3 separate regions of the Homo sapiens genome follow, and regions 1 and 2 are each linked to region 3. Evidence: promoter capture Hi-C in 16 types of primary human blood cells and fetal thymus (Javierre and others, 2016). All regions are on one chromosome and are shown on one strand. The core of a region is centred on a gene start or on the middle of the fragment in contact, and the rest is flanking DNA. Distances in the headings are between cores, read along the strand shown. Region 1 overlaps SH3BP5 (SH3 domain binding protein 5). Region 2 overlaps SH3BP5 (SH3 domain binding protein 5). Region 3 holds the start of COLQ (collagen like tail subunit of asymmetric acetylcholinesterase).

Region 1 (3,673 bases), core at 1,174-3,673, 250 kb after region 3:
CAGGGCCTGGGGCCTTTATTACGATGTGAAGGTAAAATGTTATCGGTTGTACCAAAGATTTCTAGGTGTCATCTTTCATATGATGGTGAGAACCAGATAGCCAGCTCTCTCCGGGATTGTGAAATTGATTGGTTTCTGACTTTGGAAGTCCTGTGTTTTGTGATGACACTGAGAAGCAATGTCGCAGTTAAACTTTCCTCAGTTAGATAAGTGTGTAAACTCTTTGGTGCTTCCTGTCTTGGCCTGGCCTGCTGCCTGATACACTCCTGCTTTGCAGAATCTTCCCTAGGAGACCTTTTGACAGCATGGTGCTTCCTCAGTGCACCAGAGGGAGAGATCTCCCTCTCTTCCCCTTCTTACAAGGGCACTGATCTCCTCATGAGGGTCCCACCCTCAGGACCTCATCTAACCCTAATTACTTCCTGATAAGGTTTGGGTCTGTGCTCCCTCCCAAATCTCCTGTCGAATTGTAATCAGCGATGTTGGAGGTGGGGCTTGGCGGGAGATGATTTAATCATGGAGGCTGTTGCTCATGAATGGTATAGCACCACCTCCCAAGCACTGTTGTTTGGACAATGAGTTCTCATGAGATCTGGTTTAAAAGTGTGTAGCGACTGGGTGTGGCGGCTCACACCTGCAACCCTGTAATCCCAGCACTTTGGGAGGCCGAGGCAGGTAGATCATCTGAGGTCAGGAGTTTGAGACCGGCTTGGCCAACATGGCGAAACCCTGTCTCTACTAAAAATACAAAAATTATTATTGGTGTCTTAGCAGCTACTCTTGCCATGTATTGCTGGCAGGGAGACTGTCCAGTGGTGGTGGCATGGACCTGTAGTCCCAGCTACTCAGGAGGCTGAGGCAGGAGAATTACTTGAACCCGGGAGGCAGAGGTTGCATTGAGCCAAGATCGCACCACTATACTCCAGCCTGGGCGATAGAGTGAGATTCAGTCTCAGACAACCAACCAACCAACAAAAAAAAAGTGTGTAGCACTTTCCCCGCACCCAGGATCCAAGTCCAGGCACTTTGTGAGATGCCCTGTTCCCCCTTTGCCTTCTGCCATGATTGTAAGTATCCTGAGGCCTCCCCAGAAGCTGAGCAGATACCAGAATCAGGCTTCTTGTACAGCCTGCTGAACTGTGAGCCGATTAAGCCTCTTTTCTTTATAAATTACGCAGTCTCAGGTATTTCTTTCTTTCTTTCTTTCTTTTTTTTTTGTTGAGCTAGAGTCTTGCTCTGTCACCCAGGCTAGAGTGCAATGGTGTGATCTTAGCTCACTGCAACCTCCGCCTCCTGGGTTCAGGTGATTCTCCTGCCTCAGCCTCCCGAGTAGCTGGGACTATAGACTTCTGCCACCACACCCAGCTAATTTTTTTGTATTTTTAGTAGAGACGGTGTTTCACCATGTTGGGCAGGCTAGTCTTGAATTCCTGGCCTCAAGTGATCCACCTGCCTTGGCCTCCCCAAAGTGCTGGGATTCCAGGCGTGAGCCACCATGCCCGGCCCATAGGTATTTCTTTATAGCAGTACAAGAATGGACTAATATGGCTCCCAAAGGCCCCACTTCCTAATATAATCACATTAGGGATTAGGGCTTCAATATGTAAATTTGGGTGGGCACAAACATTCAGTCCATAACAGGAGCCTTCCTGGAAATCTCACTCAGTGTTCATTTACCTCTCATTAGCTGTCACTTACCAGAGGGACCAGTTGTAGTGAGGGCTGGGAAGTGAGGGTCTTTAGCTGAGATATTGCCTCCCTTTGAGACCACAACGAATAGAGAGAATAGACAGTGGGGCATGACAGGTGCCCAGTGCTTACTTGAGTGAATGAACCGGTAAGTGCATGAATTATGGAGAGATGGCATCTGGTTTCTGTGGGTTAAATGTGGAATGAGGCCTCACATTAGTTGTACCTGTGATATGGCAAGGCAAACATGTATCCTATGTCACTGTACAGGAGAAGGAATCTCGCAGAAACTTCAGACGCTTGTCCGGAATTTGACAGCACATGTTCTTCTCAAAGGCAGCTTCACATGGGCTTCCTCTTTTCCTTTGTAGAGATCTGGTTCTCTTATTTGGAACTCATCAGATACATGGCAGAGGGTGTGAAGAGGTGCTGGGCCCGTGGTACAGCAGCCACCTTTCAGAAGGCCGTCAAAAGAGCATCTTTTCTTGCTTGAAGAAATAAGGGATTCATAACTGAAGCAGAGAGAACTGGGAGAAGAGAGTTTACCCTTAAATGTTGCTGAATTGAAATACTAAAAAATTCCTAAAAAGGCAAATACAAATCCCATTTTAGGATCCTGTGGGATTCATCCTGTCTCCTGGAGTTGGTGTGAAGCATATAGGTAGGAGAGGCCACCTATGGGTAGGGGGTGGAGTGGCTTTTAAGGTGACAGGTTCCCTCTGCTTCCTCTCGTTCCCAGCAGCTTGGCCTGCGGAGGCCCTGCAGGGCTGTCCTCACATGAAAGAACTAAGAACCACTAATGGGCCTGGAGGCACGAGGTGGGGCAGGGGTTGGGGGGGTGAGTTGGTCAGCTCTAGGGAGGGTGGGCATCCTTGTTCTCCTTGTGTAGCTGAGGCACACCTGAGTGGAAGTGGGCGACTGGTCCCAGGGCCACATGGTGAGTCCACAGCAGGGGCAGGTCCCTGGGCCACTTTGGTTGAAGGTTTAGCCTGGCATTCATTCAAGGTCTTCACTGGAGTCCTTTTTAAAAATTTGATCTGAGGTATCATCGAATCTCCTACAGGCACTCTGTTTTGTAATGTCTTTATCCTACAGGCACTCTGTTTTGTAATGTCTTTATCCTACAGGCACTCTGTTTTGTAATATGTCTTTATCCTACGGGCACTCTGTTTTGTAATGTCTTTATCCTACAGGCACTCTGTTTTGTAATGTCTTTATCCTACAGGCACTCTGTTTTGTAATGTCTTTAGAGTCTCAAATCCTTCCTTCTGTCCCCCACCTCATCAGCCCATGTTTTCAAATCATTTGTGTCCTTAGTCCTGAGTTCGGGATCCTCCTCCTTTAAGAGGCCTTCCTTGGTTCTTTGTACTGGAAATAATTTCTCCTTCACATTCCCTGCCATTCCTCCCTTCCTGCTGTGGCACTGTCACATACAGCGTTGTATTACAGACTTCTGAGTGTCCACTCCATGCTTGGTTCGGGTCTCCATCTGATTGTCATCGTCGCCTGGAGGGCTGGGTCTGGGTCTGGTATGCAGTACACAATCACAGAGTGCTCGGGAAAAGCTGTTCTTTGCCTTGGGGGCTGGCGTGCTCTGAGTCTCTGATTTTTTTGTTCCCCCTTCTTTAACCTTCTTCACAAAGCGTCCTCAGCCTGTGGTTTCTGAAGACTTCCTCGAAGTCATGCAAGAATTGCTTGGGGAAGGGTGGGGTCCCTGTAGTTCCCCTCTTCCCGAGTCCCAGGGGCTGCCTTAGGGACGTCCCACCAGGGCTTATGTAACTGACTTGGGGATGTGGTTAACCGAGGGAGGGTGGTGGGACGAGGGAGGGTGGTGGGACGCTGCAGAGGCGGGTTTGTGGCTTCTACCCTGCTGGGGAATTCAAGGTGAGCCTGTAGAGTGGTGACTGTGATGTTTCAGTGCTGATTTCTCATGCAGTCACACAGCTGCCATCACATGGCCCATCTTGGGGTAAAGGTATCTACT
Region 2 (3,779 bases), core at 26-2,525, 230 kb after region 3:
AATTTCGCTTTTGTTGCCCAGGCTGGGGTGCAATGGTGTGATCTCGGCTCACCACAACCTCCGCCTCCCGGATTCAAGCAATTCTCCTGCTTCAGCCTCCCGAGTAGCTGCGATTACAGGCATGCGCCACCACGCCCAGCTAATTTTGTATTTTTAGTAGAGATGGGGTTTCTCCATGTTGGTCAGGCTGGTCTCAAACTCTTGACCTCAGGTGATCCACCCACCTTGGCCTCCCAAAGTGCTGGGATTACAGGCATGAGCCACCGCGCCTGGCTTAGGTTTTCTTTTCTGGTGATGCCATGAACCATTTGCATTCAACCCCATTCTGTCTGGCAGGTGGCAGGAAGTCCGCGTGGGGGACTGGTTGCAGGCAGGTCTTAGCCAGGAAGCACTGGGCTGGAGGAGCTGCCCTCCATCACCTTGTTAGTTGGGAGGTTTGTCATGGGCAACTCCCTTTTTCTTATCTCCTTTGCTATTCACAGAGGCATGGCTGAGCCCCCCTTGGTGCTGCTGGGCAGGCAGTGTTCTCTGTGAAGCTAACAGGTGTGGTTTGTCACCACAGCATAGTGGTTAGAGGGGAAACAGGGTGTGGAGTTTGGTTCCCTGAAACCATGATGCTCTTCAGATGTTTCCTTCCTTCTTCTCAACTGTACTCTGCTTTCAGTAAAGTGATTGCATGGACATGGATAGCCCCTTCCCCTCTGTAAACCACAGGCATTCCCTGGCAAGAGTGGCAGAGTGATTAATTTTTCAGTGAAAGGAAATCAGAGCATAGGTTGTGTTTCTGCTACGAGTTTTGTCGACACAGGCTGGCCTTTTTATGTTGCCTGGTGACGAGGTTTGGGCCCCGGCTGTGCACTCTTGGTGCACCTTCTGTTCCTTTCCTGACTCAGAGGATGCCCCTGCTTTCCTTCCTTTCTTTTCTACTTCTTCCCCAGCCCTTCCAGTTGTGACTTCTATGAAAATCTACCCTGAAGAATCTGATGAAATTATTCATGCTGAGAAGTAAATGACTGATAAGACTTAGAGATTTATGGTCTCTGGGGCTTCAAGTGGTTCTGACTTACAAACATTCCCATAGCTTGGAATACCCTGCTTCCAACCTGGTGGGACTGCATATTCCCAACTCAGGGTTCATCATGCTGTGGGAACCTCTGCACATGTGAGAGACAGAACTACACCCTTTACACTAAGTGGGAAATGCTTAGAAGTGCAGGCTGTAGGTAGACTTTTCATTTCTACCCAGTGGGATGTCCTTGTGGAGTTTAAGCCAGAAGTAAGATTGGCGGATAGAACATGGGAATACAGAACACCCAGTTAAATTTCAGATTTTTTTTTTTAGGTATAAATTTGTTCTATGCCATATTTGGTACATAAGCTAAAAAAATTGTTTACCTGAAATTCAGATTTAACTGGAAGGCCTATATTTTTATTTGCTAAATCTGGCAGCCCTACCAAAAGGGAATTTGTAGTGTTGATCAGCCAGAGAGAGAAAGTAGTTTTGGGGTCAGCTGCCCTGTCTTGGGGTTCCTGAATCCACAGCATGTGGAGCTGTGGAGGAACCCTGGCTCCCACTTTGTCATTCCTTAGCCTGTAGCCTTGAGTGGGCACAAGTGAACACAGACAGGAGAGTTGAGTGATACTAAAAAGCATGCGAATGCTCATGCTGCTGTTCTAGCTACTCCCAAGCCTGGTGTTTCTGGGACGAAATTGAGTTTCTAAGATAAGGAGCTGGGTCTAGTATTTTTTTCTGTCCACCCCAACCCTCACTAGCTTGGTTTTGCTGAGAGCTGGTCAGCTCCCGGTAGAATTCCGAAGGGCTTCATGGGAGGCCACATCAACTGGGTCTCTTCTGAAGAATCTTCTGGAATGTGGGTTCCTCAGCTGTGTCTTCCCCTGTCTTCTCCAGCCACTTCCTGTTTCTGCCTCCCACCAGTTCTTTCCCCTTCTCCATTCTCGATGGCCTTTATTAGTTTGATATTTATTAGTTTCTTCCATTTAAAACTTTCATGGGCATGGGGGGAGTTTACCTTCTCATGGAGGATGGAGCACCTGTTTGCTTCAGTTAAGGCAATGATGGGCTCTGGTTAGGAAGCCTCACTTTGTAGGTTTCATTTTGGGTAAGTGGTTTATTTTTATTTTTGAGACGGAGTCTTGCTCTGTCACCCAGGCTGGAGCGCAGTGGCACGATCTCAGTTCACTGCAAGCTCCACCTCCTAGGTTCAAGTGATTCTCCTGCCTCAGCCTCCCAAGTAGCTGGGATTATGAGTGTGTGCCACCATACCCGGCTAATTTTTTTTTTTTTTTTTTTTTTTTGGGACAGAGTCTCACTCTGTTGCCCAGGCTGTAGTGCAGTGGCGCAATCTCGGCTCACTGCAACCTCCATCTCCCAGGTTTAAGCAATTCTCCTGCCTCAGCCTCCCAAGTAGCTGGGATTACAGACGTGAGCCACCATGCCCAGCTAATTTTTTGTATTTTTAGTAGAGATGGGATTTCACTGTTAGCCAGGGTGGTCTCCATCTCCTGACCTCGTGATCTGCCCGCCTTGGCCTCTCAAAGTGCTGGGATTACAGACGTGAGCCACCGCGCCCAGCCTAATTTTTGTATTTTTAGAAGAGACGGGGTTTTGTCATGTTGGCCAGGCTGGTCTCAAACTCCTGACCTCAACTGCCTTGACCTCCCAAAGTGCTGGGATTACAGGTGTGAGCCACCGTGCCCGGCCTGAGGAAGTGGTTTAAATGGAAGTAAAAAAAGATGCCCTGTGCTCATCAATTCACTGTCAGCCCCAAGTGTATGCCCCAGCCCTTTGTCAAAGCACCACACCCCAGAGAAAGTGCTTGGTGTTATTTCTAAAAGCAGTGGCATATCAAAATCTTCTGAGGTTTTTGCATTCTTTAAGTCTCTTGATCTCAGGGTAAGGCCAGCTTAGTGAAGGTTCTCCTTATGTAGAGAAGGGGGGGTGTCTGTTTTCACACTGACCTGGGCACTCATCCAAGGTGGTAGAAGGTATCTACAGTGGGCCCTTTATTGAGAGCAGCTGTTGGAAGGAAATCATGAGGTGTAAGATGCCGTATTAGTTTATGTAGGCTCCTCTTCTGCCTAGCCCCATATCAACACCCAAGGCCATAGGAAAATATATGGGTGAAGGTATGTGGCCTGAAATTTTGAAATCTACATTGTTTGTGCACAAAATAATAGCTGTATCATCTATCAGTTAGGAATTATGTTTGATCGTAAGCAACAGAACTCAAAAATATGGCCTAAACACACAAGGATTCCGTCTCTCAACTAACAGAGGACCTAAATTAGGCAGTCCGGAATTAGTGCTGTGATTTCATGGTCACTGAAACCGAGTGTTCTGTTTGCTGCTCACATCCTAATATTTGAGTCCAATCTTCCACGTCACCTTGTGGTTGAAGATGGCTCCAGGAACTCCAGCCATCACATCTGCATTTCAGGACAGAAGGAGGAAATGAGGAAGGGATATATGTCCCTTCTATTTTAAAGAGTCTACTTGGGAGTCCCAGACAACACATTTTCCATTCATTGCTAGAACTTGGTCAGGTAGTCACAGGTAGCTGCAAGGGAGGCTTGACTTGGAGTCTTTTAGCTAGCCAGGCAAGGTTGTTTTAAGGATGAAGCGGGGAATGGATATTGGGAGCAGCTAACAGACTGCCACGTTGGTACTATAGTTTATCTTCTAGAAAGGCTGTGAGTTAGAAGGAGTTAAAGGTGGGCTTAAGTTACCCACAGAGCAGGCATAAGACTCTTTTGAGCAT
Region 3 (3,793 bases), core at 1,111-3,610:
GTGCAGAAAGCTGGAGCATAAAGTTATGCTACTTTTGTACGTTCTTCTTTTTTCATCCTACCCAGTGGTGTGATTTGATCAAAGTAACTTACATTGTTGAGGATCTGTTAGGTGACAAGGACTGTCCTGGGGGCCTTGAGAGTACATAGAGCTGTGGGATAGTCCCCTATCTTTAGGGATGTTAATGCCAGCTAAATAGCAACACAAGGTGGTGTTCAAAAACAATAGCAGCAGGTGTCACCGGTAGGACGTATTGACAGAATTTGTTCCAAGGGTATGGTCAGTGGTGAATTCTTTGTGCTGAGAGAAGGAAGAAGTCATACTGGCTTTGCAGAGGAGGAATCTGAGCTAGATAGTAAAAATTCATATTCTGACACCAAGTTACTCAAAAGATACCTTCCTCCCAGGTAGACTGTACCTTCTCCAAGCCACTGGAAGCTGGCTGCTGGGGCTCCAGGAGTTAACAAGAGTGAGCCTGAGAATGTCCTGATTGAGTTTGGCCAGCAATCACAGCTCCTTCTTGTAAAAATTTTGGGAGCAGCTAAATGGGGGTACCCTCTCTTTAATCTGTCCTATAAATTTTGAATGTAGTTCAGGTATATTTTTCATGCTTTCAAAAGCTTTCCTTATCAACTCTGTATCAGTTAGCTATTGCTGATGAGCAAGTCATCCTAAAACTTACTGGTTTGAAACAATAGCCGTTTTATTTGCTCATGACTTCGTAATCTGGGCTGGGCAGTTCTTTCGAGGGTCTCACTTGGGGTCACTCCTGTGGCTGGCATCATCTGAGACCAGGACAGGGCTAGATGTTCCAAAATGGCCTCACTCGCCTGTTGATGCTGCATCTGGGATAGTCAGAACAGCTGGAGGCTGGCTGCTTCCCCCTCCATGTGGCCTCTTCAATAGTCCAGACTTTTTAAAGTGGCAGCTGATTTTCAAGAAAAGGCAAAAGCAGGAGCTGCCAGGCCTTTTAAGGCCTAGGCCAGGAGATGGCACAGTGTCCCTTTAGCCACATTCTATTGGTCAAAGTAAGTCACAGAGCCACCTCAGATTTAAGGGAGGGGAACTAGCCCTGCTTTTTGCTGGGAAGAGTGTCATGCACACACTGGGTTGGGAGGACTTTTGGAGGCCATCTTTGCACCCAGGCTACCATGGCTCCCTTGGGTCTCCTTTGTGCTGTTCCTATGTGCAAGTTCTAATCCGTGTAGGATTCATCCCCATTACCTCACTTAACTTTCCAACAAACCTTTAAAGGGAACATTGTCTCCATTGTATGGATGAGAAAACTGAGGCTTAGAGAGGTGAGCTTGTCCACTGCCACTCAGAGCTGAGAGTCAAGCCCAAGTGTGGTGCTACAGCTGTAAAATATCACTTTATACCACGCCCTGACCCAACTCCACCTTCCCCATAATGAGCACAGGGGCAGGATGCCCACCCCAGCATCCAGTAACTAGCAGACTGTTTCTGAGTTAACTCCTATGAGGCATGTAATATGTAAATTAAAGCAAAATGAACAACTCTGTGAATTATTATTTTGTTTTAGTCATCTAATCATCTCTATAACAGGCTTTTATAAACTCATAAAAGGTATTAAGAATGTGATAATTTTTATTTGAATAATTTTGTCTAGCCAAAGATTAAGTTAGTGATGTTATTTTTCTGAATATAGTTTGATAAAAATCATTCACTTTTCTATACTTTTACTGTTTTCATTTATTTTGCCTTGCATTGAATCAAAAGGTTGCAGCTTTTGGAGAGAGAAACACTTTTTCACAGAGAAAGCTGTTTGGAAATATAAACTACTTCCTTCCTCCTTTTTATTGGATGATTAAAGAAAAAAATTAAAAGTTAACTTTACATTTGTTACACAATGGGTAAAAATGTCACAGGCTGACAGTGGAGGGGTTTTTCTCCATGAAATTCAGTTTGAATCAGGAGAGTTGTTTCTGCCCAGTTCCAAGGAGGTAGATGGTGGCACATAACCAATTAGGAATCTCTCTGCCCTTGAGGACTGCCTCCAGTGAACATCTGAGACTTGGCTGCCTTCTCATCACCTCTTCACTAGCCACTTACCTCAGTCTCCAAAAAAGAAAATTTTGACATCTTAATTTTAATGTGGGCATTTGATATGGAGCTTGAGATAAATATAACTCTCTGTAGCATGGAGACAGTTTAATGGGAAATGGTTGGCATTCTTTCTTGGTAAAGGCATGGGAGACAGGAGAGGTGGGGGAGGGAGAGAGAGGGAGGGGGTGAGGAGGAGGGAGAGGGAAAGAGAAAGAGGGAAAGACACACACACACACAGACACACACACACACGCACACACACACACACAAACACACGCGCACGCAAACAGCAGTGAGGAAGAGAAAAGCAGAGATAAGCAAGGCTCCGCAGCAGCCTCCTTTCTAACTTGACCCTCGCCAGACCCTGGCCAGCATGGTTGTCCTGAATCCAATGACTTTGGGAATTTATCTTCAGCTTTTCTTCCTCTCTATCGTGTCTCAGCCGACTTTCATCAACAGCGTTCTTCCAATCTCAGCAGGTAAATGATGGCCACAACTTTCCTCTCTTCCATCTGTCAGGGGACAGGGGGAGGAAGGAAGATTGTTTTGCAATGTGTCCTGATGTTTTTGCCATTCAACTGTTGGTGGAGGGAGGTTGGAAGGAAGACGGCCACCCCAGCAGCTTCCTGTCACCCGAGCTTGTCTCGGAAGCCCCTTCTGTCCTTGTTCCAACCGGCTCCTACCTGGCTGCTCAAAGCAGAGACACTTTGAAAAATGGTTTCTGCCTCCCCTATTCTCCCCATTTGCTGCATGATTTCATCTTGGTCAGGAATTTGGGAGAGCTTAAAAGAGACAGAGGTGTGCAAGTAATAGAGAAGTGAGTCTCAGATGTTTCTATAAATACATCTCTGACCTCTTCGAAGGGGGCTTGCCTCACAGGGGCTGTTGTGGAGTAAACAAACCTCTTTCCAGACCCAGATAGCATCCATGGCCACAATAGTCCCTCGAAGGGAAAATGCAGGTGGCAGGGGCCGGTGGGGTGGGGGGTGAACAGCGGCGGGGCAGTTGCAGCCTCAGGACTAGGTTTTCCCTTTCTCCAGACCTGTCTTCCTGGGTGCGACTTCCCTTCAGCCTCAGACAAGGCAGCTGGAGGTCCTGAGAGAAGTGAGCTTTCCAGGGAGAAGTGGAGGGGGTTCCACAGTGACAGCCAGGTCTGGAGCTGAGTGTGTCTGCCGGGTATGAGGCTGGGAGATTTGGGGAAGGGGCTGTGTCTGCCAGCCTGCAACCTTTTCTGAGGTCAGCAGCCTGTTGCCCTTGTCTTGTCTGACCCAGAGCAGGGGAAGTATTCGGTTACTAGTATGGCCTATTTAAACCTTTCTGAGGAAACTCAAATGTTTCCGGAGGGCTTGAAGGAGGCAGGCAGACCCTCACAGCCCCCCTCAATTCACCTCAGTGACCCCTGACTCTCCCCAGCAAAGTTTTAGTTATGCCTCCAACATGAGTCTCATAAATACTTCAACTGAGACAGAAATTTCACTATCGCTGCCTTTGCTGGAAACACAGGGAGGGCCAGAAATGCCAGGCTCTCAGAGAGGGCACATCTCTGAATCCAGCTCCCAACTGCTGTCCATTGATAAAAACAGCTCATCAGCAAGTTGTGTAGCCAACGTTTGTGGGCCATGAGGGAGTGACTCAGAGACTGGTGTGAGGCTAATTATAAAAGTGTGAGAAACAGAAGGAGGTGGGGGCAGATTTGTGGAGAATTCAGGAGGGTGGGCAGGAAAGG

What was found. The method cuts DNA at HindIII sites, captures the fragments that hold promoters and counts their contacts. A CHiCAGO score of 5 or more calls a contact.
Region 1: a fragment that was not itself captured here is called in contact with the fragment with the promoter of COLQ in region 3 in 3 of 17 cell types (M1 macrophages, M2 macrophages and monocytes); the score reaches 7.8 in M1 macrophages.
Region 2: a fragment that was not itself captured here is called in contact with the fragment with the promoter of COLQ in region 3 in 1 of 17 cell types (M1 macrophages); the score reaches 5.7 in M1 macrophages.

What each region holds. Positions count from the first base shown.
Region 1 is chr3:15,271,793-15,275,465 of GRCh38, reverse strand. The region is part of intron 3 of SH3BP5 (SH3 domain binding protein 5); the gene reads left to right. Among named protein-coding and RNA genes, the nearest start is that of SH3BP5-AS1, 19 kb to the right of the region's middle. The HindIII fragment of the contact is 9,619 bases long and covers 1-3,673 here.
Region 2 is chr3:15,289,063-15,292,841 of GRCh38, reverse strand. The region is part of intron 3 of SH3BP5 (SH3 domain binding protein 5); the gene reads left to right. Among named protein-coding and RNA genes, the nearest start is that of SH3BP5-AS1, 37 kb to the right of the region's middle. The HindIII fragment of the contact is 7,378 bases long and covers 1-3,779 here.
Region 3 is chr3:15,520,273-15,524,065 of GRCh38, reverse strand. COLQ (collagen like tail subunit of asymmetric acetylcholinesterase) reads left to right here and starts at 2,360. Exons shown (of 17, transcript NM_005677.4): 1 at 2,360-2,546. The coding sequence starts at 2,441. The HindIII fragment of the contact is 3,239 bases long and covers 623-3,793 here.